Linked DNA regions of Homo sapiens: region 2 is linked to region 1. The links are contacts of gene promoters, found by promoter capture Hi-C in blood cells and fetal thymus (Javierre and others, 2016). All regions are on one chromosome and are shown on one strand. The core of a region is centred on a gene start or on the middle of the fragment in contact, and the rest is flanking DNA. Distances in the headings are between cores, read along the strand shown.

Region 1 (3,982 bases), core at 1,061-3,560:
TAGTCCATTTTCACACTACTGATGCAGATATCCCCAAGACTGGGCAATTTACAAAAGAAAGAGGTTTAATTGGACTAACAGTTCCATGTGGCTGGGGAAGCCTCACAATTGTGGCTGAAGGCAAGGAGGAGCAATTCACGTCTTACGTGGATGGCAGCAGGCAAAAAGAGAGAGCTTATGCAGGGAGACTGCCATTTTTAAAACCATCAGATCTCGTGAGACTCATTCACTGTCAGAGAACAACATGGGAAAGATCCACCCCCATGATTCAATCATCTCCCACTGGGTCCCTCCCACAACACGTGGGGATTATGGGAGCTACAACGAGATTTGGTTGGGGACACAGAGCCAAACCTTTTCAGGTGCCATAAGTTAAACTGAGACCCTCAAGGGATGGCCAATGTCCTCAGCAACTATTGAACACACAATAGAACAAGAGAAACCCAACTGCGAAGTCTCTTTCTCACATCCTTTAGGTGGATGGCATCTGCCTTGCATTAGAGAAGAGAATAAAGAACTTTCCTGGCCCGAGAACATCTCCAGCAAAGGATGCAGCTGGGAAAAGCCTGCTAAACCCACTCTCACAGCAAAATTTGAGGTCAATGGGCCAAGTTATTAGATCAGAAATTATGAAGCCAAGAAAGCGAGGAAAAGCAGCAGCAATGTGGCTGACATCTCCACTAAGAGGCTGGACAAATAGTGCCAAGAATTTTGTCCTCTGTTCACAGGACTCTGACAGGCAAGTGACATATCTTCGGATCAGATCAGCGGAGTGGCAAGGTGAAGTTAAGCAGGTCAGAGGCCTCTCAGTCTCCCTTCTCAGACACAGTTACAGAAGAAAGAGAGGGACTATGAACAGTTAACGGCCTCATAAGATGTGCATAGAAACTAGCAACTGTGATTCATTCAAGTTTACACTGCAGGCCCTGAGATAAGTACTTGAAACATATTTATCTCACTGGATTGTCACAACAGCCATATAGGTCAGTATAATTATCATCTCCATTTTACAGGTGAGGAAACTGAGGATGAGAGAGACCAAACAATTTGCCTAAGATTTCATTGATATAAGCAATGCAAGCACAATTTGAACCCAGGCAAACTAAATTCCTGAACCCACACTTATAACTACCCTTATTCTGTTTCCCACACAGTTAACGATGGGAAGGGATGGGGGTTGGCGTGGGCAGAACTAGACTCTAGGTCTGTCCAGCTGTAAAACTCTGGCCTACTCAAAACACTGTATACCCATGGTTTCTTGGAGTGACACAAACACACACACACGTGTGCAAAATAGCATGCAGGCAATGAGCATGTACCCCATCTCTGCCTCCAACATACTTCCATCTTGCTTTAATGTCTACCTTTTGTGTGTGTGTCTTTACAATGTCTTCTTTGAGGCTGCATGTCCAGGAATCAGAAAAACCCAGAGTTGGGGTCTCAGGGCTTCCTCCATGTGACTTTATATGAGAAGAATCGCTGGCTGTGGAATGTGAGACACACAGCCCATCTAAGCCACCAGGTAGTACCCCATGAATTCTGGGGCAGGGTCACCCCCAGAATGGGTAAGTGTTCACGGAGGGATCTAAGTCCAGCCAGACCTGGGACTTGCCCTGGCCTCCCCACCCCACCCCACTGCCACACACACATCTTTGCAGCTGTATGGTACTGGGAAAGTTACAGTCACAGTACTCAAGACCAAAAATTTGCCAGGTTTTCCAGTCAGATACCTAGCAAGTTTTGAAAAATCTGGACTCTGAACAAGTGAGGCAAAGCATCACTGAAATAAAAGCCGCAGGTATTATTTGTAAAAAAATAAAACTCCTAGAAGAGCAGCCGTGGGGTAAGTAAAGTATGGATGACCCGAAGGGGAGAGGAATAGAGAAAGAAACTGATGGGAGAAGAGAAGCCCCAGGTGCATGAGCCACGCACTCCCAGAAGCAGAACTGGGGCACCCCAGGTATGACAAAAACAACCTAAAGGAGAACCAGCCAGGAACACAAAACCTGCCCAAAGTGGCACCTGGGAGCAGGACTTTATGGGGTTCCACCTTCCTAGCCTCACCTTAGGGCCCTGTGCAAAGGCTTCTTATACAGGCAGAGAGGTTGTTCATCTCAAACATTAGTCTCATGGGTGCAGTGTCATTGGGGCCAACTCCTGCACACCTCTTCAGCAGCCCAGGAGTCAGAGGCCACGTGGGTCACATTACAGGTGGGCAGTGGTGAGACATTCAAGGATCACACTCCTCCTTGTCGTAGAGCCCCAGAGGGGAGCTTTGGCCCAGGTTAAGGCCCCAGTGACTTCATCAGTGGATCTGAACTGGGTAGTATCAAGTTGTTAATAATAATAATAAACAAGACTCATTAAGAGCTTAGTATGTACCAGTTACTGCTCTAAACACTTGCATGTAATAACTCATTTAATCCACATACAAGATCGAGATGATGTAATCATATTTATCATGTTGTGAATATTAAAAGAGATGACACACAGTGTGTGATTTTGCTTTTTGTGAAATTGATGATAAGGATGATCACGGTAGTGGTGCTAGTAATGGTGGTGGCAGTGGCGATGATGGCAGTAACGAAGGTGATAGTGATGGTAACATGCATTATAGTGTAGTGAGTAAAGATATTGATTTGGAGTTACACCAAGACCTGGTTCAAATCCCAGCTCTACCACTTAGTCATTGTGTGACCTTAAGCAATTCAATTCTTTGAGTCTCAGTTTCCTTAACAGTAAGATAATAATATGTCTCTCATGGTATTCTTGGGAAGAGAAAATGCATGTCAATGCATGTCTTAGCACAGTACCTGGTACTTCATACGCTAGTGGCTGCTGTGGAGAGAGGACAGTGGCAACAATGCCTGCAGCAACAATGGCAACGATGTCAGAGCTTCTCCACAGTGGAAGGGGAGTTCCTGATCACACTCTACACAGCCCTTCCAGCAGAGACAACCTGAGGAGCCTCCTCTCTGGGGGAATGTTTTTTTGTTTGTGTGTGTTTGTTTGTTTGTTTGTTTGTTTTGTTTTGAGACGGAGTTTCGCTCTTGTTGCCCAGGCTGGAGTGCAGCGGCACGATCTCAGCTCACTGCAACCTCTGCCTCCTGGGTTCAAGAGGTTCTCCTGTCTCAGCCTCCCGAGTAGCTGGGACTACAGGTGCCCGCCACCATGCCCGGCTAATTGGGAGAATGTTTTTCACAAGCCACGTTTAGTCCCAAGTACACAAGAAGGCCTTCCATGCCGTTGCAGGCGCCACTCACTTAACCATTAACCAAGCTGGCCCTGGCCACACTGGGAAACCGACAAAGGTTATCTCTGGCATTATTGCATCACCTTCTCACCCCTTGCCCTGGCTTCCTGGGACCTTACACCAACCCCTAGTCTGCTGGGACTAGAGTCCCAGCCTTACCACATCTCCTTCTCCTTCCCAGAGCATTGCTTTTATCCTTCTGTGTCCAGTCAGCATTTGCCATTTGGGGTTCTATGGCCTTGAAGTTAATAATAATAATAGCTAACATATTAATATAATAGCTAATGTATATTGTGTGCTTACATTGATAGGTTTATGTAATCCTCACAACCACTCTATAAGTTGAGTGAAGGTATTAGCCTCATTTTACAGGTGAAGATGCTGAGGCTCAGAAATGGTAAGTAACTTTTCTTCGTCACACAGCTTATAAATTGCAGAACTGATACCTGACTTGAGATGTGTTTGATTTTGGAGCCCAGGTTCATTCTACCATATGATGCTGCCTGCCTTAAGCAAAGGCTTAACCCACAGGACTGAGAGTATTGAACACATAGGATGAAGAAGAAGCTGTTGGGGGAATAATGCATTTGGCTGACTCTCAAATCCTTCTAGAAAGGAGCTCTCCACCACTCGCTTTTCTCCAGGCCCTGTCCAGGCATTGTCATTGTCCAACTCTCGTGGTTACTATGAATCTTAGAAATGGTGTGTCAGCTCCACGTTCTAAAACTT
Region 2 (3,990 bases), core at 846-3,345, 450 kb after region 1:
CTCTACTAAAAATATAAAAAATCAGGAGGGGCGCGATGGCTCACACCTGTAATCCCAGCACTTTGGGAGGCCGAGGCGGGTGAATCACCTGAGGTCAGGAGTTCGAGGCCAGCCTGGCCAACATGGCAAAACCCTGTCTCTACTAAAAATACAAAAAATTAGCCAGATGTGGTGGTGGGTGCCTGTAATTCCAGCTACTTGGGAGGCTGAGGCAGTAGAATTGCTTGAACCTGGGAGGCAGAGGTTGCAGTGAGCCGAGATCCACTCTAGCCTAGGTGACAGAGCAAGACTCTGTCTCAAACAAATAAACAAAAAAAAAAAATATATATATATATATACACATATATACAAAAAAAAAATTAGCTGGTGTGGTGGCACGTGCCTGTCATCTTGGCTACTAGGGAGGGTGAGGCAGGAGAATTACTTGAACCTGGGAGGTGGAAGTTGTAGTGAGCCAAGATGCACTCCAGCCTGGGCGACAGAGTGAGACTGTCTCAAAAAAAAACAGAAACAAAAACAAAAACAGACTTTAATAAGGATTTAATCTTTATGACAACACTTTGAAGAAGGCATCATCCTCCTAATTGACAGAAGTGGGGTGGGGGATTTAGGCACAGAGAGGGGAGGCAACTGATCCAGGGTCACCAGCTTCCTTGACTAGGGTCACCAGCTCTCCAATCCCTGTGAAGCTGAGGGCTGGGCTTGTTAGCCTGATGTGCAGCCCAGGAGGAAGGCTGCCACAGCCGGAATACATGCAGGGCCGTCTGTGTTTACTGTCATTCCTGAGAGCTGTGGAGGAGCCAGCTCCTGGAGGGAGAACAGGACACCAACAGTGATTTTGCCCTTGACATTCAAAGGTGACCTGCTTACTAGCCTTTCAGGGGATCATCTTCACTGGGACCAGTCTCCCCTTAGAGTTGTTTCCAGTAAAAACAAAAACAAACAAAGAAAAAAAACCAGAAGAGGCCATTTATCCCTTTCTTTTAGCCCCGCTACCTGGGGGCTTCAGATATTTTGGCCCCTTCTTCTGGTTGTATATGGTTCTCCCAAACTGAAGAGCCCTGCTTCCTCCGCTGAGGCTAGAGGGCTGAGGTTGTGCATTTCAACACTGAAGGGCTGGTTGAGGGTCTGACCCCAGCATAGGTGCCATGCCAGGGCCATCAAGAAAAATTGCTGAGTGGCCAGAGTGGATTGGTGTGTGTGCTCTGAGATCAGCAGGAGCTAAGGAAGTGCTCTGGGGTCAGCTGAGAGGGAGCCACCACTTCTGCCTAGCAGGTCCAGGAGGTCGGTGCCATTGGCTGGAGTTGGGCCTTGAAGGATGAGAATTATTCAGCCCTGGTGGGGAAGAGGCAGGCAAAATTGGGCATTGGGAACAGGATGGGGAACAACAGCAAGACATCATCCTGGCTTCTAATTGGCCTCCTGCCCCGCCCCCACTGCCATCCATGGGTTTTCTCTCCCAGGAACAGAAACACAAACCAGATCAAACCACTTTAAAATCCTTCAGTACTCGCCACTGCTCCTAGGAACAACAACAACAACAAAAATCTACATCCTTACCAGGGCCTCTATCTCAGTAGGATCCCCCCACTCCTCCACTGTGTTGGAGCCACACTGGCCGCTTCCTCAGTCTTTCATGCTCTTTCGAGTCGCAGGGCCTTTGCACTTGCTGTTCATGCCCTCCGTCGGAGAGCTCATTCCTGCTGTCTCTATCTTGCTTACTCTTTATCTTGTAGGTGGCAGCTTCCAGATCATTGCCTCAGAGACCTCTGATCACCACCCCGAGCCCTCTTATCCTCTATGGCTTCACTCCCATCATGATTTGGAATTATTTATTTGTGAACTTGATTAGCCGAGATTGTAAATGACATGAGGTCAGGGACTGGACTGGGTATGTTTTCTTCTCTGTTGCTTTCCTGGCATGAAGTACAGTAAATACAGCACCTGATACATTATACATGGCCACAAATATTTGTTGAATGAATGAATAAAAGCACATTGGGTTCTGACCATTCAGTGTCCTGAAAGAATGCAGTTTTTCAAACTGTGCCTCACCATCCATTAGCGGGGTGTGAAATCAATTTAGTAGATGATGTCTAGCATTTTTTTTAAATGACACGGAATAGAATAAAAATAATCAGACCACGCTGAGGTAAAGGATGTTCTGGAAATTATTGTGTGGTTATGTACTTGTGGGTCATGATGTTAAATGTGCTTTTCCAAGAATAGCCAAGATAAATCCGAAAAAGAAAAACAAGCAGGGACGACTTGCCCTACCAGAGTTCAGAACTTGTCATGAAACTGCAGTAATCAAGACAATGTGTCATTGGAGGAGGGACAAATTGACACACAGAACAGAAAGCTCAGGCACATATTCACACACCACAGGGCATGACAGAGCAGTGGGGAAAGGAGGAACTGGAAAAAATAACTCCCCGTATGTAAAATGGGATTACTACCCACCATGCACGCATTTGTTTACAAATCGACTTGCAATAGTTGAAAAGAATTTGAATGTTGAAAATAAACTAAAACTCTCAGTAGATTTCTTTAAAAGGAAAACATACACACATTAAAAAAAAAAAAGCAGTGACCATAAAAGTTTGCTTAATCTGACTATATTACAATTAAGAATGTTGGTTCATTGAAAGACATCTTGGCTGGGTGCGGTGGTTCACATCTGTAATCCCAGCACCTTGGGAGGCAGAGGAAGGTGGATCACCTGAGGTCAAGAGTTCAAGACCAGCCTGGCCAACATGGTAAAATCCTGTCTCTACTAAAAATACAAAAATTAGCCGAGTGTGGTGGCACGTGCCTGTAGTCCCAACTACTCGGGAGGCTGAGGTGGGAGGATCACTTGAATCCAGGAGGCAGAGGTTGCAGTGAGCTGAGATCAAGCCACTGCACTCCAGCCTGGGGGACAGAATGAGATCTGTCTCAAAAAAAAAAAAAAAAAAAAAAGTAAGAAAAGAAAAGAAAAAAAGAAAGACATCTTAAAGGAAGTGAAAAGTCAGTTACAAACTGGAAGCAGCTATTCAAGATGCACACCCCTGACAGAGATTAGTGCTGAGACTCACAAGAGCACAAGAGCACAGCAGAAAAGTGGGTGGGAGACATAAGCAGGCGTTTCACCAAAGAGGCAACATATGGTTAAAAAAACAAAACAAAAAATTAGCCAGCATTGTTGTAACCCCAGTTACTTAGGAGGCTGAGGCAGAAGAAGCGCTTGAACCCAGGAGGCAGAGGTTGCAGTGAGCCGAGATCACGCCACTGCACTCCAGCCTGGGCAACAAGAGTGAAACTCCAACTCAAAAAAAAAAAAAAAAAGGACAAAAAAAAATTCTATAATTATGGAAAAAGGAAAGCAAGGGCGTTATGATCACAGGATTCATGATGTGCTGAGTTCTAGTTCAGGGGTCCTGGGAAAGGGATGCAAGAAGGGACCCTATGGCTAGATGTGGACTATCCTCAAGATGCTACCTTGGCCAGGTGTGGTGGCTCATGCCTGTAATCTCAGCACTTCGGGAGGCCAAGCAGGGAGGATCACTTGAAGCCAGGAGTTCAAGACCAGTCTGGGCAACATAGCAAGATCCCATCTCTGCCCCCAAAAAAATTTTTTTAAGAGAAAAAATTTTTAAAAAAGATGTGACCTTTTCTTTTAGGTAGTGGGTTCATAAGTGCTTACTATATTACTTAAAATCACCAATTAAATAGTTAAATAAGTGAAAATGGGTGATGAATAGACCAATGAGTAGAGTTTGGTCATGAGCCAAAGATGATTAAGTGAATGCTACGTACTTATGGGCCAAACAACAATAGAAATAAAATGTATTGGCCGGGCGCAGTGGCTCACGCCTGTAATCCCACCACTTTGGGAGGCCGAGGCGGGTGGATCACGAGGTCAGGAGATCAAGACCATCCTGGCTAACATGGTGAAACCCCGTCTCTACTAAAATACAAAAAAATTAGCCGGGCATGGTGGCGGGCGCC

The links. The method cuts DNA at HindIII sites, captures the fragments that hold promoters and counts their contacts. A CHiCAGO score of 5 or more calls a contact.
Region 2: the fragment with the promoter of FAM83A-AS1 here is called in contact with a fragment that was not itself captured in region 1 in 8 of 17 cell types (total CD4 T cells, naive CD4 T cells, naive CD8 T cells and 5 more); the score reaches 9.0 in total CD4 T cells.

The regions. Positions count from the first base shown.
Region 1 is chr8:122,753,958-122,757,939 of GRCh38, forward strand. No RefSeq gene overlaps it. Among named protein-coding and RNA genes, the nearest start is that of ZHX2-AS1, 26 kb to the right of the region's middle. RefSeq lists an enhancer at 3,173-3,467. The HindIII fragment of the contact is 7,858 bases long and covers 1-3,982 here.
Region 2 is chr8:123,200,648-123,204,637 of GRCh38, forward strand. FAM83A-AS1 (FAM83A antisense RNA 1) reads right to left here and starts at 2,096. Exons shown (of 3, transcript NR_024479.1): 1 at 1,561-2,096; 2 at 997-1,335; 3 at 525-807. The region is part of intron 3 of FAM83A (family with sequence similarity 83 member A); the gene reads left to right. The HindIII fragment of the contact is 13,090 bases long and covers 1-3,990 here.